Regions from separate parts of the Homo sapiens genome. Here regions 1, 2, 3, 4, 5 and 6 are each linked to region 7. Evidence: promoter capture Hi-C in 16 types of primary human blood cells and fetal thymus (Javierre and others, 2016). All regions are on one chromosome and are shown on one strand. The core of a region is centred on a gene start or on the middle of the fragment in contact, and the rest is flanking DNA. Distances in the headings are between cores, read along the strand shown.

Evidence for each region. Contacts are between HindIII fragments. The CHiCAGO score rates a contact against its expected background, and 5 or more counts as called.
Region 1: a fragment that was not itself captured here is called in contact with the fragment with the promoter of CLSPN-AS1 in region 7 in 1 of 17 cell types (M2 macrophages); the score reaches 5.3 in M2 macrophages.
Region 2: a fragment that was not itself captured here is called in contact with the fragment with the promoter of CLSPN-AS1 in region 7 in 9 of 17 cell types (total CD8 T cells, naive CD4 T cells, naive CD8 T cells and 6 more); the score reaches 8.5 in total CD8 T cells.
Region 3: the fragment with the promoter of ZMYM4-AS1 here is called in contact with the fragment with the promoter of CLSPN-AS1 in region 7 in 11 of 17 cell types (M2 macrophages, total CD4 T cells, total CD8 T cells and 8 more); the score reaches 7.6 in M2 macrophages.
Region 4: a fragment that was not itself captured here is called in contact with the fragment with the promoter of CLSPN-AS1 in region 7 in 1 of 17 cell types (M2 macrophages); the score reaches 5.2 in M2 macrophages.
Region 5: a fragment that was not itself captured here is called in contact with the fragment with the promoter of CLSPN-AS1 in region 7 in 2 of 17 cell types (fetal thymus and total CD8 T cells); the score reaches 5.7 in fetal thymus.
Region 6: a contact is called between a fragment that was not itself captured here and the fragment with the promoter of CLSPN-AS1 in region 7, in 2 of 17 cell types (total CD8 T cells and endothelial precursors). The highest score is 6.1, in total CD8 T cells.

The regions. Positions count from the first base shown.
Region 1 is chr1:35,393,408-35,396,340 of GRCh38, reverse strand. It overlaps ZMYM4 (zinc finger MYM-type containing 4), which reads right to left. Exons shown (of 30, transcript NM_005095.3): 18 at 2,602-2,746. Among named protein-coding and RNA genes, the nearest start is that of ZMYM4-AS1, 29 kb to the right of the region's middle. The HindIII fragment of the contact is 2,814 bases long and covers 1-2,681 here.
Region 2 is chr1:35,436,251-35,439,178 of GRCh38, reverse strand. The region is part of intron 20 of KIAA0319L (KIAA0319 like); the gene reads left to right. Among named protein-coding and RNA genes, the nearest start is that of ZMYM4-AS1, 72 kb to the right of the region's middle. The HindIII fragment of the contact is 5,091 bases long and covers 1-2,928 here.
Region 3 is chr1:35,364,571-35,367,559 of GRCh38, reverse strand. It overlaps ZMYM4-AS1 (ZMYM4 antisense RNA 1), which reads left to right and starts at 1,483. Exons shown (of 2, transcript NR_046659.1): 1 at 1,483-1,594. All of the region lies in intron 5 of ZMYM4 (zinc finger MYM-type containing 4), which reads right to left. The HindIII fragment of the contact is 9,120 bases long and covers 1-1,808 here.
Region 4 is chr1:35,262,614-35,265,817 of GRCh38, reverse strand. No RefSeq gene overlaps it. Among named protein-coding and RNA genes, the nearest start is that of ZMYM4, 4.5 kb to the left of the region's middle. The HindIII fragment of the contact is 1,924 bases long and covers 461-2,384 here.
Region 5 is chr1:35,455,450-35,458,590 of GRCh38, reverse strand. It overlaps KIAA0319L (KIAA0319 like), which reads left to right. Exons shown (of 21, transcript NM_024874.5): 10 at 2,350-2,578. Among named protein-coding and RNA genes, the nearest start is that of ZMYM4-AS1, 91 kb to the right of the region's middle. The HindIII fragment of the contact is 626 bases long and covers 1,000-1,625 here.
Region 6 is chr1:35,412,385-35,415,255 of GRCh38, reverse strand. ZMYM4 (zinc finger MYM-type containing 4) reads right to left here. Exons shown (of 30, transcript NM_005095.3): 27 at 1,173-1,284. Among named protein-coding and RNA genes, the nearest start is that of ZMYM4-AS1, 48 kb to the right of the region's middle. The HindIII fragment of the contact is 1,886 bases long and covers 665-2,550 here.
Region 7 is chr1:35,737,562-35,740,858 of GRCh38, reverse strand. CLSPN-AS1 (CLSPN antisense RNA 1) reads right to left here and starts at 1,414. Exons shown (of 2, transcript NR_199043.1): 1 at 1,346-1,414. It overlaps CLSPN (claspin), which reads left to right. Exons shown (of 25, transcript NM_022111.4): 19 at 1,330-1,494; 20 at 1,602-1,723; 21 at 2,277-2,404; 22 at 2,762-2,867. RefSeq lists enhancers at 1,121-2,320, 2,064-2,565. The HindIII fragment of the contact is 7,776 bases long and covers 1-2,971 here.

The DNA.
Region 1 (2,933 bases), core at 25-2,524, 340 kb after region 7:
TGATGTGAGGAGAAAATGAATGCAGGATATAATTTAGATGGATAAATTGAAAGGATTGAAACAGGGAACCTAGAAGACAGGCATGGAAAACCACTTGCTAAAGAGGAGGCTGAATAGGGAGGGGCCATTTCCATCATGCTATAATGCACATTTCAAAATCATTTGTAGCTACTGAAGATTTTTTTAACACAAAGTAGTGATGAAAATGACATCAAAAAAGATTAATTTGGCAACAATTTCAGCACTGAATAAAAAATATATCAACTGTTAAAATAGGAGGCAATTATAATATGTAGAGCTAAGATGATGGGAGACTACTCTAGGTTATGATACCTACAAAAAAGAATAAATATATATAGCAGATGTTCTAAGTATTAAAAGGATGAAACAGAACTTGGAAAAAAACTTGGAGAAAGTAGCAAGATGGATGATTTATTCCATTATTTAACCAGACGGTCCCCAACTTAACGATGGTTCAATACAGGATTTTCCAACTTTATGATGGTGCAAAAACAAGTATATACCATACTTCTGTATAGCACTGAATGAATTACATGGTATTCAAAACTTTATTATAAAATAAACTTTGTGTTAGATGACTTTGCCCAACTGTAGGCTAATGTAAATGTTCTGGGCATGTTTAAAATAGCCTAGGCCCAGTTATGATGATGTTCTGGAGGTTGGGCATATTAAATGCATTTCTGACTCATGATTTTTTTAACATATGATGGGTACAACATTATAAGTCAAGGAGCATATAGAGTCCTTTCTATGTGTCAGAGAATATGCTAGATAAGTGTAAAATCATTAATCTAGGAGAAAGGTAATACTAGGGACAGAAAGAGAAGAGCTAACAATTTGACTAGAGTTAGAAGTGGGAAAATAATATGGCATAAATTTTTTTTTTTAACAGATGGGGGTCCCACCATGTTGCCCAGGCTGGTCTTGAACTCCTGGGCTCAAGTGATCCTCCCGCCTCAGCTGTCCAAAGTGCTGGGAGTATAGGCATGAGGCACCACATTTGGCCAACAAACTTTACATAATACAGCGGACATTAAAAAATTGTTACTTGATTTAGAAACATCTGATAACCAAACTACATAATACTAAATAAACTGCTATTGATTAAAAAAAAAAAAAAAGAACTAAATCATTTAGAGCCTTGCTATTTTGGTGTGGTCCATGAACCAGAAGCACTGACTTTACCTGGGAGCTTATAAGAAATGCAAAATCTCAGGCCTCACTGAATAAGAATCTACTTAGTAAAATTCCTGGATAATTCATGTGCATATTAATCTTTGAGAAGCAATGGCTGACAGGATAGCCTTGCAGCTCTAGAAATCAAGAATTTCCTTCTAGTTTAAAAATTCTGGGACTTTTAAAAATTTTTTAGTAGAGATGGTCTCGCTATGTTGCCCGTGCTGGTCTTGAACTCTTGGGCTCAAGTGATCCTCCTGCCTCAGCCTCCCAAACTGCTGGGATTACAGGTGTGAGCCACTGCAATCGGCCAAAATTCTAGGACTTTTGGATGGCAGCATGAGGAGCTACAAAGATCTATTCCTTAGTGAAACAAGCAAAGAAAGTGAAACTATTTAAAAACAGCCATTTAAATTCTTGGGAAATTGTCCTAAAGGCATATACCAAATGAAGAAACATTTATTCAAGACAATCTGTTCAAATTTGGTAAGAACAGTGAAAGTCTGTGACATTTCAGCCATCACAGGCTTTATCCCCCCAGCTCAATTCAGCTCAGCTTGACAGAAACTCCACTATGGGTAGCTGTGGCCAATAAAAATGGGCTTCTCTCCACTCAGCTCCCAATCAAGTGTTACTGTATCTCATCAAGAAAGGGAGGCCACAAGCATTTCTCATCCGCTCCAACTGAAAGCTGAAGAGGCTAAATTCCTGGTGAGTACGGGCAAGAGGTCAGGGGCTTCCCTTCACCCAGTTTCCATCCACTGGATGGAGGCTCTACCCTAGGAAAAGCAGGCCAAGAACACTGGGATCCTGATCACCCTCACCCCAGCTCACTTGTAGGGCAGAAGTTCCATGCCAGGGGAGGCAAGCCAAGAAGGCCAGAGACTACTACCCTGCCCAGCATCCATAGAGGTGGCTCAGAGATTCTGCCTAGGGGGAGAGGCAGTTCATAAAAAAAAAAAAAAAAAAAAAAAAAAAAAAGAAAGCTCTGAAGCTCTCCTCAAAGGAACTGACTTCATTTGAAACAGTGTGGAGTAGCCAAGAGACTGTGGAGTAGTTCAAACCTAAGGTCACACTGGAAAACAATAGCACCTCCTTAGAAGCCTGTCCATGTAATTCCAAACCTTATGCTTATTCTATAATATTACATTGTCATTAATAAGAGAATTAAATGACTTGCTCACAGTATGGTATCACTGATTAACTTCCTTCTCTTTGACCCAACTTGTTAAGCCTCAGATGCGGAAAATACCTAACTCACGGGGATGCTGTGAGAACTAAATTGGGCAATGTATACAAACAACCAAACACATCACCTAGGAAATAGCAGGTACTCAATGTAAGTAGATCCTACATTTCTTTCCCTTAAAAAATTAATAAAGAAAGAAAGACCAAGGAACATACCTGTCTGGCATTCTTTGTTTTGGGTATGTGGTTTGCAAGAGGTGGCTTTAGTCTGTGTGATGGGTTTGCATAATAAAGCTTTGTTCTTCAAAAGCCTTGGAGGTTGGGAAGGTGGCAGTTTCAGGGCATCTGTTTGAGTACTTGCCTAGTAAAAAAACAAATTAGAAACCAAAAACATTTTTAAAAATCTCATTGTAATTATAAGAAATATTATAATATTAAAGGAAATGTCATATTGGAATTACATGGAGGACATAGCAAGTAAATATTCAACCAAATGTATAAGAAATACAATACTCCTAAAATATTAATAGTAATCAAGGAATGTTTTA
Region 2 (2,928 bases), core at 161-2,660, 300 kb after region 7:
TGACATGATGGACAGGTTCACCTTCCCACAGAGTAAGGGGTGAGTGACCCAAGGCTCAATGGATGAGCAGGGTCCCTGCTGAGGACTTCTCTTGAGTACAATGGGGAGCCACTGATAGCTTTTTAAGGGGATGAATGGTGGGATTTGGTTTACATTTATTATTATTTGAGACAGAGTCTCACTCTTATCACCCAGGCAGGAGTGCAGTGGTGCGATCAAGGCCCACTGCAGTCTTGACCTCCTGGGCTCAGGTGATCCTTCCACCTCAGCTTCCTAAGTAGCTGGGACCACAGGCATGCGCCACCATCCCCAGGTTTTTTTGTTGTTGTTGTTGTTGTTTTGTATTTTTGGTAGAGACGGGGTTTCATCATGTTGCCTAGGCTGTTCTTGAACTCCTGGGCTTAAGTGATCTGCCTGCCTTGGTCTCCTAAAGTGCTGGGATTATAGGTGTGAGCCATGGCACCCGGTCTTGGTTTATATTTTAAAAAGACAACTGTGTAGCTGGGCGTGGTGGTGGGTGCCTGTAATCCCAGCTACTCGAGAGGCCAAGGCAGGAGAATTGCTAGAACCTGGGGGTGTGAAGGTTTCAGTGAACTGAGATCACTCCAACCTGGGCAATAAAGCCAGACTCTGTCTCAAAAAAAAAAAAAAAAAAAAAAAAAAGATAACTGTGGCTGACAGATGCAGGGGTTGGAGGGGAAAGGCTAGCTGAAAGGAAGTTAGATAGAATGTCCTTGGGGTTGAGAGGCAGATAGATTCTAGATACATTTTTGAGGAAGACTTGATGAGGTTAGTGGTCTGCTGGCCAAGGCGTGTGGGAGAAGGGAGAAAGGAAGGATGGCTCCCAGCTTCAGCACTGAGCCTCTGTGGGTTGGGTGGTGGTAGTATCCCTGAGATGGGAGAGACTGGAGAAGAAATGGTGGAGATCAAGTGTTTGGTGCAAGACAGTTATGAATGGAGTTGAGGGAATGAGAATGAAAGATTGACAAGGCCCAAATTGTGAAAGTTTGACTATCAGCCTGCAGAGTTAAACATTTATCCTGGTGATGCTGGGAAGCAAAGTCTTGGATAAGCTGGTTTAGGAAAATCAGTCTGGTGACAACATATAATAATTGAAGGGGAGTGGCTACAAGTGTGGAGACCAGCAAGGAGATTTTTGGTCCAAGGAGGAGCTGACAGTGATTCACACAGCGTGGTGTCAGTGGGTTATAGCTAGGTCTGGCAAGGTCAGGGCTGACTTCCAACCGAGAGATGGAGAATGATAGTGCTGTTGACAGAATCAGAACCTCTGATGCAGTGACTGGGTAAGAGAAGATGAATTAAATGGAACTCAGCAGAAGAGTCAGACATGGAACTGTAGAAATAGGAATCTCCCATCTGCTGGTGAGGATCAGCACCACAAAGGGTCACATCCCTTATGGGGGAATGTTGAAGGACAAAAGAAGAGGCCTAGGGTTGAGGACCCCAAGAATGACCATCCAGGAGGGAGGAGGGGATTCATTAGGGGACAGCCGTCGGTGTTTGCTGCTGCAAAGGCCAAAGAATCAGAATTGATAGCACCAGAGAAGCTCCTGGCCCATCAGAGAGCTGCAGTAGAGTGGGGAGTGACAGTGGAAGTGAAAGCGCAGGTGATTTAGAAAGCGCAGTGAGGAGATGAAGGCCCTGAATATTTAAAAATCCTTTTAGAAGCTGAGCAGTGAAAGCTAGAGAAGCAGGATGGCAGGCAGAGGGCAAGGGCCTCCTCTTCCTCAGAGAAGGGCTCATGAACAGATCTGTGGGTGGCAATGTCGAATGCAGGTAGAGGAGTGGTGCGTTGGAGAGGTGCTTCCTGACTGAGGAGGAAGGAGGGAGAAGGGAAGAGAGGAGAGAAAGGGAGCATGGAGTTCAGATGCCTCTTCTGAGGCAGGAGGGGAGAAACGGGCGGTGATGGCCCGGAGAAGTGCCGCGCTGCAGAGGTGAGATTGGATGGGAGCCTGAGCTCAGCACATCGGACATCTTAGGGAGAGGGGAGAGCCATGGGGTGTTCCAGTGGCATCTAGGTGACCAAAACCAACAACGTGCGACCAGGTGAGGGCAGCAGGGCTGGTCTCTTGTGGGCAGTGTCTACCGAAGGGAGCTGGGAGAGCCCGCTCAGGTTCGGTGTGGGTCTGAGCAGGCCGGAAGCACTGGTTCTTGTTCTGGGCTCAGTGGGTTAGCAGGTCCAGCCTAGAGTAGAGTCACTAGGAGGACGAGGAGAATGAGATTCAAGACCATATGGTGTCAGGTATGGAACTGAAGAAGTTTAGCTGGAAGAAGGGTAAACTGAGTGGGTCCGTTGGGGGGAAAGAGGATGTGTGTGCGCGGGAGTCTGGACGGACAGTTTGCCAGGAGCCAGTTTAGGCTGAGGATGAACAGTAACTGAGGAAGGAGAGCAGTGCCACCTGGTAAGTGTAGGGCTGCCCCCCTCAGGAGGCCCCCTTTACATTCAGCAGCTATGGCTTTGTTTTCTCTTGTTGCTGTTGTTTTTTGTTGTTGTTTTTGTTTTCTATTGATTTTTTTTCTAAAACTTTCTATTGAAGTATATTAGGTTGAACCTAGGCTCCTGTCCTCACTGCTATAGCCAGAGGGGCTTTGGGAAGGAGGCAGCTGTGAACAGGTGGGTATTTCAAGGGGTGAGGCAGGGCCTTTGGAGGACCTGGGCCCTTGCCAGGGCCCTTTCCACTGTCCCCACCACACTGGAGATGTCCTGGCGGTCAGTGTTCTTCTGTGGCCCTGCTGCTCCGCTGCCCGAAGACTCAGTAGGAGAGGTTCAGTCAAGACCCAGAACTGTAACCCTGACACCAACGCGGGTGAGGAAGCTCCCTGCCCAAGCCCCAGAGCATGTGGCACAGGCACAGCTGTACATGGACAAGGTCCTTGGGCGCATGTGGTCCTGAATGGCAGGCGCAT
Region 3 (2,989 bases), core at 234-2,733, 370 kb after region 7:
ATCCTAACGAAACTAATTGTAGGATACTTATGGCCAGACGTGGTGGCTCACACCTGTAATCCAATCACCTTGGGAGGCCGAGGTGGGTGGATCACCTGAGGTTAGGAGTCTGAGACCAGCCTGGCCAACATGGTGAAACCCTGTCTCTACTAAAATTACAGAAATCAGCGGGGTGTGGTGGTGCACGCCTGTAATCCCAGCTACTCAGGAGGCTGAGGCAGGAGAATCGCTTGAACCCAGGGTGGTGGGAGGGCAGAGGTTGCAGCGAGCCAATATTGCACCATTGCACTCCAGCCTGAGCAACAAGAGTGAAACTCTGTCTTTTAAAAAAAAAAAAAATTAATTAATTGTATGATGTTCAACCATTTAACAGCATTTGCCACATTCAACCTCTCCATCCATTTTTTAGAATATATGTGTAATAAGTGTGTGTATGTGCATGCCTATTATTCTTCTACAAAACTTCATAACCTAACCATTGATATTTTCATCAGAATTGCATCAAATCTAAATCTCAATTTTTTTTTTTTTTTTTGAGATGGAGTTTCACTCTTATCCCACAAGCTGGGGCACGATGGTGCGATCTTGGCTCACTGCAACCTCCACCTCCCAGGCTCGAGTGATCCTCCTGTCTCAGTCTCCCGAGTAGCTGTGATTACAGGCATGCACCACCACGCCCGGCTAATTTCTGTAATTTTTGTATTTTTTAGTAGAGACAGGGTTTCACCATGTTGGCCAGGCTGGTCTTGAACTCCTGACCTCAAGTGATTCGCCCCCCGCTTGGCCTCCCAAAGTGTTAGGATTACAGGCGTGAGCCACCGCACCTGGCCTTAAATCTTAATTTAAAAATAACTGACATCTACATATTTCTTACATTTAAAAAGATGGTCTCTTCATTATTTCAAGTTGTATTTGATATAAGTACTTTTTAGTTGCTGCTGGGAATAGTGTATCTTTTTCATTATATCATCTAACTGGGAAGTTTATTTATAGAAGTATTGGTATAATTCAACTAGGTACTCCACTAAATTTTCATGAATTCTATTAATTCTTTCATAAATATTCTTAATAGCAAGTGATAATTTTATTTCCCTTTTTCCATTATTTTTTCTTCTAATTTCTTTAACATGGATTGAAGTAAAAATCCAACAAGAGTTAAATAATAACGATGACATCCGCAACTTGTATTCTTTTAGTAATATTAACAGAAGATTTCCATCATTTTACTTCAACTTCAATAACTGTTACTGATCTGAAGTAGTAGTTCCTTACTATGATCAAGAAAAAATCTATTCTAAGAAATGTCTGAATTACATGAGATGTCTTTTGGCATCTAATAAAGTGACTATTACAGATACCCTTATTTGACCTGCTGATGAAATATATGTATTAAAAGATTTTCTAACATCGACTAATCATGACATTCCTTCATTATATAGTGTATTAAAGAAAATTTCCTTAAATATTTTTATTTTAATCTCAGAAAACTCCAGAAACAACCAATACTCATTGGCATACATTAACGGTCTGCAGTCAGCTCTCTTAGTCTCTGTGATGGCTATTGCAAACTTCTGCTGGATTCCTTTAGCCTTGAGTACGTATTATTTATGTAATATAGTAAAATAGTATACATCTTAAGTACTGTTTGTATGGTCCACAATGCCTTCAAGGCACAATCATGTTTGGTTTATGTTTGGATCCTCCCATGATCACTAATTTTACAAGTATTTGATAAACAAATCAATGAGTAGCCAAATACTAATAAATATTTTCTGAGAAGTAAATATCTAATTGGTAACCCAAAAGCTTTCAGAAGCAGAAAAACACATGCCAAAACACAAAAAAATTCCTTTACCAATACCTTTACCTTCTTAGTTTACTACAAATGAAGATCAATATTAATATCCCATGAAAGTATTTTAGAAATGAATAACACAGTTTCTATTGCCAAATTAACTCAATATGGCTAAAAGAGCCCCAACATTTGAATTACTACATTTTCTTTCCAAAACTGTGTGAATGACTATTATGACAATTAGTTCATTTGCTTTCCCATTTTAATTGAGTTCTTTCAATGAGAGACTACACATTAGCTCGTCCTCTATTATTATGAACAAGAAGAAAAAGAAATCATGACTTTAATGTAGTATTTACTGAATGTACAGTTTTTAGACCCTATGGAAAAGGCAAAAGAGGAAAATGAGGTCTCTGGCTCTCTTTAAAGTATCTATTTTGAAACCTTCCCTTGGTATTTTTAAAATTAAACAACTTTTATTTACAGAAAGATTGGTAGACTAAAAAAAAAAAAAAAAAAAAAAAAGACTTTGATTATGACCCCAGATTGGCTCCTTCCTGGCCATGAGGGCTTGAGTAACTAAATCTCTATATCTCTCAGCTCTCTCACCTATAAATGTTAACATCCTCTACTCTGGCCATCTTATACAGGGTTGTTAGGCGAATTAAGCAACACAGTACGTGTAAAAGCATCTGTAACTGTAAAAATACTACAGAAAACATTATAGAAACATGCAATAGAATTAGAATGAAGAAATGAAACTGTGAGACCCAATGACATTATGCCAGTAATAGAGGCAGGAGGACGGACAATGACTGGCAAATCCAGAATATCATAACTGAAGAAATAACCAAGAGCAAATGGGTAGAGGAAGTTAAATACATACACACACATTTCAGCACCTTGTTTATATAGTAAAGTAAAGAAATTAGGACCAAAATGAATTGTGTAAAAAAGAGAATTAGGAAGTGAGCTAAAAGCAAAACTACCTAAATTAAGCACAAAGAAAAGCCAAAGGAAGTTTTGAAAAGGTGCCATAAACTAAAGCTATGATTTTATTGAACCATGAAAGAAGTTACTGGTAACTGATGGTCAAAAGTAAACACTGACCACAACTGTAAAATCTATCAGTATTTTATGAGAGGCTAATAGTACTTTTTTGAGACTAATAATATAATACACTAGAGTTCTCTT
Region 4 (3,204 bases), core at 173-2,672, 480 kb after region 7:
AAATTTTCTTAGTTCCATTTAATCTATGAAGCTCAGCACATAATAATTTCATAGAGTTTTTACATACTCCACAGGAAATGCCTTCCACCCAAATATCCTTCCATCCAGGACAGCTAAGCCATGAGGCTGCATATAGGGAAATAAAAGAAAAGTCTGACTCTTTTAATAAAAGGGTAGAGAGAAGAAGAACAAAGAGAAAAGTAAGAGAGGCATCATTGAGAGACATGTGCTCCTGTCTTCCCATTCCAGCTCTTCAAGGCAGAGAGGATTCTTACTCTGCTCCTGTTTAAGATTCCAAGTAGAGATGACTTGCAGACTATGCCCATACCAACAAGCAGACAGCCACATATGAGCAAAAGTCATGCCCTGATGTAGTTGGGAAAAAAGAGCAGGTCTGCATTTAGCTCCTCAGAGTGTCTCTCAGCCAGAGATGAATCCAGGTTTTACAGATCTTGAAGCTTACATGATGGGGGGAGAGGGAGGGTTTTTTTGTTTGTTTGTTTTGTTTTGTTTTTAAGAAAAAGAACACAGAATTACATACACAAAATTAGGTACAGGGTTTTGGGCGGAGCTCTGCAAGTGAGTGGTCCTTAGCTCCTGCGAGAGAAGATATCCAGAAGTTCCCACATACCCTGTAGAAGAATACGGAAAGTAGCCAAGAATGCTGGCTGGCAAGTATAGGAGGAAGTAGCTCTGTAAATTACACTGGGCCAGGAACAAAAAGTAGTAACAGCCAGACCTCAGGAAGAGCTGTGTGGTTTGCCTTCAGGCTCTGAGCAAACTTAGCGAGGCCAGGCTACAAAACATTCCACTCTCTTAACAACAGGCTGTAGAGCATCCTGAGAGGTCAGGGACTCCGAATAGATTCAAGGTCTCAGGCTTCCCCAAAGTCATAATGCCTCATAAATGCAGACGTTATTTTAGATACTCACTCAGAGGGAGAGGGCAGCCACAGGAAAGATACAGTGTTTCTTTCCAAAAGAAATTATTAACTAACAGAATTCTAACCATTAGATTCAAATATGTTTTAAACTACATTGGACATTTAGGTAGATCCATTCAGAAAATGTTAGGAAGAAAGTAAAACAAGTGGGATAAAAAATAACTGTAGTGGGGCTACTTTAGATATGTTAGTCAGTGAATATTTTCCGAGGAGGTGACTTTGTTTTTCTTTTTCTTTTCTTTTGGAGGCAGGGTTTTGGCTGGGCACGGTGGGTCATGCCTGTAATCCCCGCACTTTGGGAGCCGAGGCAGGTGGATCACTTGAAGTCGGGAGTTCCAGACCAGCCTGGCCAACATGGTGAAACCCTGTCTCTACTAAAAATACAAAAATTAGCTGGGCATGGTGGCACATGCCTGTAATCCCAGCTACTCGGGAGGCTGAGGCAGGAGAATTGCTTGAACCCAGGAGGCAGAGGTTGTAGTGAGCCAAGATCGTGCCACTGCACTCCAGTCTGGGCGACAAAGTGAGACGCTGTATCAAAAAAAAAAAAAAAAAAAGAGGCAGGATCTTGCTCTGTCATCCAGGCTGGAGTGCAGTGTCACCTTCATAGCTCACTGGAGCCTCAAACTCCTGGGCTCAAGTGATTCTTCTACCTCGGCCTCCCAAAGTGCTGAGATTACAGCTGTGAGCCATCGCACCTGGCTAGGAGGTGACATTTGAACTGAAACTTAAATCATGACCTCATGACTGAGAGCCATCTGTGCAAATGTCTGGGTCAGAGCATTCCAGTCAAAGGGAGCAGCAAGTGTAAAACCCCTTGGCAGGAACAAACTTGAAGTGTTCAAGAAAAGCAAGGTGCCGATGTTACTAGGACCAAGTGAGATGGGGCAGAAGATGAAGTCAGAGAAGCAGACAAAGACAAATTATGAAGATCCTTGGATGCCATGGTAAGGATTTGTAATTTTCTGTGTATGATGTAAAGCCATTGAAGTCTTTGAAAAAAAAAAAAATGATGTGAACCCTCTGGATACCATGTGCATTGCAGAATAAGCCATAAAGGAGCAAGGGTGGATGTAAGTTACGAGGCTTTGTGGCAGTCCAGGTAAGAGATAACAATGACTTAGCCTAGGGCATTGGCGTTGGAGATAGTAAAAATTAGATTCAGAATATATGTATTTTGAAGGCGTAGCCCATGGAATTGCTGCTAATGAATTGGGTGCTGGGAGTGAAAGAAAAAGTGATTTAGGGATGATTCTTAGCTTTTTAGCCTGAATAGATAGGTTAATGCTGTTGCCCATTATTTGAAATGCAAAAAAAGAGAGCAGATGTGAGAAAGTGGGCAGAGAAAGAAGGAAGATGTCTTGGACATGATAAATTTGAGATGCCTCTAGACATCCAAGTGGAAATGTCGAATAGCAGTTAGATATTCAAATCTGAAGCTTAGGAGAGATAACAGGGCTAGAGATAGAAATATGAGAGTCATTGATATAAGCCATAGACTTGATAGAGTTACCAAGAGCACGTATATTGAAATGAATCCGGAGGCACCCCGACATTTACAGCTCAGGAAGAGAAAGAGAATCAGCCAAGTAGCAGGAAAGTCAGGAGAATTTGTGGTCTCAGTAACCAAATAAAGACTGTTTTGGGAGAGGCTCAATTACTAATTTTTCAGATGTCACTGAGAGGACAAGTAAGATGAGGCCCAAGAATTGATGATACGATTGAAAGATCTTTAGTGATCTGGACTAGAATTATTTCAGTGGATTTGTTTAAACATAAGCATGATTGGAGTGGCTGGAAGAGAGAATAAGAGATGAAGACATAGAAACAGTGAATGTGAACAATTCTTTCAAGAAGTTTCACTTTGAAAAAGATTAGAGAGATAGAGTGCTATTGGAGAGGAATGTGGCCCAAGAAATCTTTTTTTAAAAGATGGGAATCACTAATGCACATTAAAAATAGTAAACCATGACCAAATACATTGGAAAGGTCAAATAAATGACATGGGCCAGGCGCGGTGGCTCATGCCTGTAATCCCAGCACTTTGGGAGGCTGAGGCAGGTGGATCACCTGAGGTCAGGAGTTTGAGACCAGCCTGGCCAACATGGTGAAACCCTGTCTCTACTAAAAATACAAAAATTAGCTGGGCATGGTGGCAGGCATCTGTAATCCCAGCTACTTGAACCCGGGAGGCTGAGGCAGGAGAATCGGTTGAACCTGGGAGACAGAGGTTGCAGTGAACTGAGATTGCACCATTGCAC
Region 5 (3,141 bases), core at 63-2,562, 280 kb after region 7:
CTAGAGTCTAAGCTTTTAACCACAAGGTTAACCTACAGGTTTTTTAGTGGATGGGGTATGAGAGTGATTTTTTTTTCCTAACCTTCATTTTAAAAAAAATCTATGAAATGATATGATTTGATTTGATTAGCATTAAGGTTGTAATTCACTCACCTTTTCCTCTCTCTTTTACATGGCAGTAGCCTTTTTCCTCAGCCCTATAGTCAGCTGCTGTTTGGTTTCAGGATCTTTGCAGGCAAGCCAGGGACTGTTTGAGGTGAAAGAGAAAATGGGCAGCTGCCATTTTGCCGTCTGTCTATAAGGTGCTTTTGTCCTGACATAGGAGACAAATGGCATATGTTAAAAACAAAAAACAGGCTGGGCGCAGTGGCTCATGCCTGTAATCCCATCACTTTGGGAGGCTGAGGCGGGTGGATCATGAGGTCAGGAGATCGAGACCAGCCTGGCTAACAAGGTGAAACCCCGTCTCTACTAAAAATACAAAAAAATTAGCTGAGCATGGTGGCAGGTAGCTGTAGTCCCAGCTACTCAGGAGGCTGAGGCAGGAGAATGGCGTGAACCCAGTAGGCGGAGCTTGCAGTGAGCCGAGATCGCACCACTGCACTCCAGCCTGGGCGACAGAGCGAGACTCCGTCTCAGAAAAAAAACAAAACAAAAAAACCCAAACCTGTGAAAACAACAGAGAAACTAGGAAAAGAGGCAAAACTTCTGTAAATTTTTGTTTTTCAGATATCTGCTGATTGGTACATGTTTGTGTGTCTGAGGTTTTTGTGCTTTTTTCCTAAAGGCTGTAATACCAAAAATCCCCTTCACACCATAGGTAAAAGGTGAGACTGCAGGATAAAACCTCACTGACGTCTGGCCCTGTCTGTGGCTGGTGGTGAGATTTAAACAAACTACATGTCTTTTCTATGCTTTTCCTCTTTCTGTCAGCAAAATGGAAAGATCCCAAACCTCCTTGCTTGCTTATGCTCACATTTTGAGGTGGCATGAGAAGCTTTAGGCTGTTCAGCTGGAAGGCATCATTTAGGTAAAAGCCTGCTCTTATAAATGAACATTTTTTTTTATTTTCTTTCTTTCTTTTTTTTTTTTTTTGCAAATCCTGTGTCTCACTGGCACAAATTGTGGGACTGTTGCGTAGGAGAATTCATTTTCATCTCAAGCTCCTGCCTTACTGGAGCCAGCCCTCCTGGTTCGTCCCGCAGGCTGTCTGCCTAGGATGTCCATCGTTGTGATGTGTAAACAGCTGGAACAGGATGATGGGAAAACAGCCTGCTGCAGACGGAGCTTGCACTACATAGCGTAGGGAATCGGGAATAGGGACTAAGAATTACCTCTTCTTAAGATTTGGTTTCTGAGCTTTGGAATCAGAGAACTATGCTTGCATCTTGGCTCACTATATAGCCCTTGGGTGGGTTACTTAGCCTCTCTAAGCCTCTTATAAAACTGGAATCAATGATGCCTACTCTATATGGTTGTTATGAGGGCCATATCAGACAATTCTTATAGAGACCTCAGGACACAGATGCGTGCAGGCAGCAGCAGGACAAAATGGCGCTGGAGACATATTGCCTGGATCAGAACCTGACTCCACTGCTTTCAAGCTGTATGACCTTGGGCAAGCTTGCTTCCTTCCTTCCTTCCTTCCTTCCTTCCTTCCTTCCTTCCTTCCTTCATTCCTTCCTTCTTTCCCTCCCTCCCTCCCTCCCTCCTTCCTTCCCTCCCTTCCTCCTTCCCTCCATCTCTCCTTCCTTCCTTCCTTCCTTTTTCTTTTTTTTTTTAAATGAAGTTTCCCTCTGTCTCCCAGGCTGGAGTGCAGTGGTGCAATCACAGCTCACTGCAACGTCCGCCTCCCGGGTTCAAGAAATTCTCTTGCCTCAGCCTCCCAAGTAGCTGGATTATAGGCCTGCACCACCATGCCTGGCTAATTTTTGTATTTTTAGTAGAGATGGGGTTTCACCATGTTGGCCAGGCTGGTCTCAAACTTCCAACCTCAGGTGATCCGCACGCCTTGGCCTCCCAAAGTGCTGGGATTACAGGTGTGTGCCAACGCACCTGGCCTCTCTGTCTTTCTCCTCATATATGTGAGGAGTAAAATGAGGATGATACTTTATAGAATTGTTGTGAGGATTTAATGAGATATAAAGAACTTGGAGCAGTGCCTAGCACATCATAAAACTTCAGTCAGTGTTAGCTTCTAGTAGTACTTTCTGCTTCTCCAATAGAAGTGGGTAAGAATAGGTAACCTTGCCACATTGGTATTTCTTAGCCTTAATTTTCAGTCTTCTAGTGTTTATTCCTCTTTCCTTAAACCCGTCCCTGATCACACTCCTCTCTCTGCCCTGATAGCTTGACTGTAGTAGACTCTGATGGAGCTACCAACTCTACTACTGCAAACCTGACAGTGAACAAAGCTGTGGATTACCCCCCTGTGGCCAACGCAGGCCCCAACCAAGTGATCACCCTGCCCCAAAACTCCATCACCCTCTTTGGGAACCAGAGCACTGATGATCATGGCATCACCAGCTATGAGTGGTCACTCAGCCCAAGCAGCAAAGGGAAAGTGGTGGAGATGCAGGTAGGAGGGAATGGTTCCTATTTTTTCTTGCCCAAGAGAAGTAGAGCTGCTGGACTGCATTTTTAGAAACCTCCAAACAAACTGAGAAAGCTTTAGGGGCCTTTGATTAACGTGGTAGCAAAAATCTTTATCTTGGCCGGGTATGGTGGCTCACGCCTGTAATCCCAGCACTTTGGGAAGCTGAGGCGGGCGGATCATGAGGTCAGGAGTTCGAGACCAGCCTGGCCAACATTGTGAAACCCCGTCTCTACTAAAGATAAAAAAATTAGCCGGGCGTAGTGGCGTGCGCCTGTAATCCCAGCTACTTGGGAGGCTGAGGCAGGAGAATCCCTTGAACCTAGGAGGCGGAGGTTGCAGTGAGCCGAGATCACGCCATTGCACTCCAGCCTGGGTGACAGAGCAAGACTCCATCTCAAAAAAAAAAAAAAAAAAAAAAAAATTATCTTAAATGTTTAGTATTAGAGGAAAAGGCTGAGAAATGTTAGTTGTTCTGGATGACTCCAGAGAGTCAAACTATTTAGAAGCTACAAGGGTGCAAATCTTAGTGAGCTCTATAACAAGTT
Region 6 (2,871 bases), core at 358-2,857, 330 kb after region 7:
CCGTTTTAATCTATTGATATTTTAGATTAGGGGTTAAGCTGTCTTTATAAAGGGCCAGAAAGTAAATATTTTGGGATGTGTAGGCCATATAGGCTCTGAACAACGCTGTTGCTGTAGAAACTAAGGAGCTGTAGAGAACACATAAACAGGCAGAGCTATATGCCAGTAAAATTTATTTATAGTCATATAATTTTCTTTTCTTTTTTTTGAGACAGGGTCTTACTCTGTCACCCAGGCTGGAGTGCAGTGGCACGATCAGGGCTCACTGCAGCCTCAAACTCCTGGGCTCAGGTGCTTCTCCCACCTCATCCTCCTGAGTAGCTGGGACTACAAGGCACCACCACCATGCCCAGCTAATTTTTTTTATTTTTTGTAGAGACAGAGTTTCACCTTGTTGCCCAGGCTGATCTTGAACTCCTGGGCTCAAGTGATCCTCCTGCCTCAGCCTTCCAAAGTCACACCTGGGACCACAGGTGTGAGCCACCACACCCAGCCATGAATTTAATATAATTTTCACATGATGAAATAGGAATTCTTAAAAAAATTTCCCCAACTATTTAAAAATGTAAAAACAATTTTTAGCTCATAGATTGCAAAACAGGGAGCAGGCCAGATTTGGCCCATGGACCATAGTTTGCAAACTCCTGTTGGAGATCATTAAGCTTACTGTTAAAGGTGCTCTGCAGCCCAACAGAAAGGTGCATATATTACTAAGCATAACATTGAACCTCTTCATTCACCTCAGCCTGAGACCTGGAGTGAATTATGGACTTGTCTGATGACATCTGGTCAAAGATAATTCAAGGACGAGGACTTAACTCTCTTAACAACAGTTCAGTATACATACAAACTACCAAAAAAGGTCCACTGTTAGCAGATATGATATGTGAAAGCTACACCAATGCTACCAGATCAAAAATGGTTTCTAAAAAGGTAAATGTAACTTCAAATTAGTTTATATTTTCTGCAATCAGTATCTATACATGTGCTATATGACTTGTACAGTTTTCCTAAAACAATCAACAATAAACCAAAGACCGTCTCCTCAGAAGTCCAAATATGGTATAAATCTGGACAGAAATAAAAATGAACAATTTTTTTAAAGATAACCAAAAAAGTTAAGCAATTTAAGAAAGCATATCATGAAAACAATAAAAAAAAAATCACCCTACCATTAGGAAGTATTGTAGGTTCCCATATTTTCAAGAGTTTGGTAAGTTCAATCATAAATCTGGAATAGGGCTCAGTAAAAATGTTATCTATTCTACCATTTTCAAACAGGTACTACAAGAAAAAAAAAAGAAAATATACATGTTGATAAAAAGAAAACATGAGTTCTTAAAAAATTATTGTAAGAAATACAGTTTACCCTTAATTTTTGCCCTTACAATATTATAAACCATGTTTAACCTCTCAGTACCTTAGAGATAGTTGTTAAAACACTAGAATTCAAGCTAAAGCTCCTGTTCTTATTAACACATTATCTTCAGCACTGACCTTGCAAGGTAAAGTTTTTGTACTTCGTTTTCAAACACGGATGGTACAGAAGAAGTATTATGAAGAACCCTTTACTTAGTTCCTAAAACTGACATACTAAAACTTGGTTCCAATGCACACGTTCCAAATCATGTTTTTCCTGATTCATAATGTGTATCTGCAGATGTGCTCTTTTGTTTTTTACCCTAGATACAAGATCATTTCTTGCAATCACACAGTTAGCTAATGTCAGTTGACCTGAGGAAACCCAAATTTAAAAACTATTTATTTGGAGCCTTCTAACTACAGCTCTCAACTCTGCCCCACAACCTAGCCCTCAAAAAAGTTCAAGTCTAATTATAGGACATTGAACTATGTTAATTATAACCATTAACAACCATATCATAGGCTAGAACAAAAAGAATACCTATAGTTTAAAAATGTATTGAGCCAGGAATGGTAATCCCAGTGCTTTGGGAGGCCAAGGTGAGAGGATCACTTGAGGTCAATAGTGCAAGACTAACCTGGGCAACACAGTGAGACCCATCTCTACAAAAAATTTAAAAACAAATAGCCAGGGGTGGTGGTGCATGCCTGTAGTCCTAACTGCTTGGGAGTCTGAGGCAGGAGGGTTGTTTGAACCTGGGAGTTTGAGACTGCAGCAAGCTATGATCATATCACTGCACTTCAGCCTGGGTAACAGAGCAAGACCCTGTCTCTTTTAAAAAGTACTGACGGCGCAGGTCAGATAAAATCAATTGAGACAGGGACACACCATGAGTAGTAACGGAATCCAAGGCAGCATGTAATTACGTGATAAAAGTATTTTGGTGTTTTTAAGGTTTAGTATTTTTAATTTATATTTCTGTGGCTATCTTGGTTTCTTGCATTTCTATGTATGATTTGGAGAAAATTATTTCCATTTAAATTTATTCTGGCTAACAAAAATTACCACTTCAATAGGCATTTTTATGAGGCCTCCTCAAAGGCAATTTATGAACTTATTGGCAGATTACAGTTTGTTGTTCAACAGTATTCCTCTTTTTCTTCTTTTAATATAGTCACTTTCAAGCTTAAAAATATATCTTCGTTATTGAAAAAGTTCAAAATAAAGAAAAAGTAGACTATTCAAACTCATTCAAACTCATCACACAAAGTCAACTACTATTCATATGCAAAAATATTTCCAATCTTTAAGAAATTCCATTATGCAGAAGTGAGTTTTGTACAGTTACAGAAATATATCAGTACATATAACGCAACATACATGTTTAAAAAAAGTCTCTTCCCCCTTAACCAGGAACAAGACAAGAATGCCTATCCTTGCCATTCTTCGTCAACACTGTACCGCGAATCCTAGCAGAGCAGCCAGGCAAGAAAAATAAATATAACGCA
Region 7 (3,297 bases), core at 165-2,664:
TAAAGAATGACAGATAAAAGTTGAACTGTTCAAAGATGGTAAGTGGGAAGTTTGGGAAACTTAGTGACTAGTGGCCTCTGAAGGAATTTTCCAGGAACTCTAGGATTTAGAACAACTTAGCTTTAAGAAAATACAGTATAGGCTGGGCGTGGTGGCTCATGCCTGTAATCCCAGCACTTTGGGAGGCTGAGATGGACAGATCCCCTGAGGTCAGGAGTTCAAGACCACCCTGGCCAACATGGTGAAACCCTATCTCTACTAAAAAAACAAAAATTAGCCAGGCATGGTGGCACGCACCTGTAATCCCAGCTACTCGGGAGGTTGAGGCATGAGAATCACTTGAACCCAGGAGGTGGAGGTTGCAGTGAGCCGAGATGGCATCTCTGCACTCCAGCCTAGGCGACAGAGCGACACTTCATCTCAAAAAAAAAAAAAAAGAGAAAATACAGTATAGGTCTTCGATAAAAATCAGTTTTCAGAAAGCCACCAAACTTCTGCCATTTTGGACCACATGGGACCAAGGTGACTTTGAATCCAGGGTGACACCAGATTTATTCTCCGGGGGAGCTGAAGTCATAAGAAGTAACTAGTCGTTTTGATTACCAGGAGCTCTGAGCCTTAGTCTTCCTTCTGATGTGGGGGTCAAGATTTGTTAGGCTGTAAGAAGATCCCAGTTTATTACCTTTCTACACCACACCATCTCTAGTTTGTCTCTTAAAGCTGGTGTGCTCAAATGCAAAATGAAATAGTTTGAACCTTCCAGCAGGTATTCTAATACATGTAAAAGAGATTAAGAGTTTTCTGGCTTTCAAATCACCCAATCTAAGTTGAATCCAGGCTCTGCTACCTTCTAGCTATGTGACCTTGGGTAAATGTAATCTTTCTGAGGCTCAATTCCCTCAACTGTAAAATGAAGAGAATAATAGTACCCATTCCTATGATAATATGTTAATGCCTGTAAAGCACAGTTATTAGCACACAAGACATATTAAGTGATCAACTTTTAAATACAGATGCTCCACATCTTACAATGGGACTATATCCTGATCAATCCATCATAAGTTGAAAATGCACTTTCATATTATCCAGATATAACTCCATCGTAAATCGAGAAGCATACTAAGTGCGTATCACATTCATGTCATCGTAAAGTTGAAAAATCATTAAGTCAAACCATCATAAGTGGAGACTATTACAAAAAAATTTAAATATTATCAAATGTATTATGTTTATTATTATTAGAAGTGACTCTGTTCTGCTTTTCTTTGCTTCCATATTCTGTGAGTATATTCATTGTTGCATTTTCTAATCCTCAAAATTGCTTTCTAGGAGGTTGAGGAAATACCTGGAGGATGAGGCAGAGGTGTCAGGAAGTGATGTGGGAAGCGAAGATGAGTATGATGGGGAAGAAATTGATGAATATGAAGAGGACGTAATTGATGAAGTACTTCCTTCTGATGAGGAACTGCAGAGTCAAATCAAGAAAATACACATGTCAGTATCCCAATAAGCCCTTCTGAGTAATAGGGTACATCTTAAGACAAGCCCTGTAACCAGCCAGAATGGTCCTTGTTTTGAACACCTTATTTCTCCTGTTGCAGGAAAACTATGTTGGATGATGATAAGCGACAGCTACGTTTATACCAAGAGAGGTACCTTGCTGATGGGGATCTGCACAGCGATGGTCCTGGGCGAATGAGGAAGTTTCGATGGAAAAACATAGGTATCTTGGTTGTTGTCTTTAAAAGCAATCAGTTACGGGCTGAGCATGGTGGCTCACGCCTGTAATCCCAACACTTTGGGAGGCAGAGGCAGGTGGATCACAAGGTCAGGAGTTCAGGACCAGCCTGAACAACATGGTGAAACCCCGTCCCTACTAAAAGTTCAAAAATTAGCAGGCTGTGATGGCACGCGCCTGTAATCCCAGCTACTCAGGAGGCTGAGGCAGGAGAATTGCGTGAACCCGGGAGACGGAGGTTGCAGTGAGCAGAGATCATGCCATTGCACTCCAGCCTGGGCGACAGAGCGAGACTCCATCTCAAAAAAAAAAAAAAAAAAGCAAACAGTTACAATGCATATTTGTCGAGTTTCAGATGGCAAATGGCAAGCAAAACTATAACAGGCTATGTGAAGACCTAGTTGTAACTGTTTTCTGTTAATGGATGGGAAAAGTTTACATCATTATATAGTAAATGATAAGGGTTTATTTTTTGTCTGTCCAAGCACCCTCTCCTGTGAGGACTGCCGAATGCTGATTACCTTCACTCTTTGTTTAGATGATGCTTCCCAGATGGACTTGTTCCACAGAGACTCTGATGATGATCAGACTGAAGAACAGCTTGATGAGTCAGAAGCCAGGTGGAGGAAGGAGCGAATTGAACGAGAGCAGTGGCTTCGGGACATGGTAGGAGTTCACCTACTCTGACCCTAGTTTATGAGACTGTCCCTTAGCTTGTCATGATAGTTTCAAAATCTTAGCTTGTCATGATAGTTTCAAAATCTTAGGCAACATATTGCTATCTCTTTTAATCCTTGAGCTATCTTTTGTGTTTTGAGAAGGCTATACCATAGACAGTTCTCTTCATGTTTGTCTAAGATTAATTTTTTTTTGTCTAAAGCAGCAAAGGCTGCAAAAAGGAAAACAAATACCCCAGGAACTCTAGTTTCACAATCCAGGCCATGCTAACTATTTAGGAAGGTTATAGACTTTTAATGCTGTATATATATATATATATATATATATATTTTTTTTTTTTTTCAGGCACAGCAGGGGAAAATTACAGCTGAAGAAGAAGAAGAAATTGGGGAGGACAGTCAGTTTATGATACTGGCCAAGAAAGTTACAGCCAAAGCACTGCAGAAGAATGGTGAGCTCTTGTTTCTCCTTAGGGTCTAGCCCCCTGGATTGTTAGTGGTAGAGCTTTGGAGGTGACTCTAACCTTCAGGAGCTGTTGCAGCTTAATCATAAGCTTGTGTCTAATACTGTCTTAAAGAGGCTTCACAGAGGTGGTGGGAGACAGTGTACTTAGATCTTAGACTATTGGGCAGTAGAGACTGTATTCATGAGTATATGTGGCTGGTTTTACTTTATGTTCTAAGGCTCAGAGTAGTTAATTCTGGCTTTCTCTAGTTGCCCAGGATTGTATACCTAAGTGTTAGAGGTAGGATTTGAATCCAGGAATATTTAACTCCAGAAATGAAGCTCTTCACTATTCCCTACACTGACCACTTCTGTTTTTCTTAAATGATTACTGTTCAACTTAGTTGTGTCTCTTCTTGGAGCCAATTATTATAGTT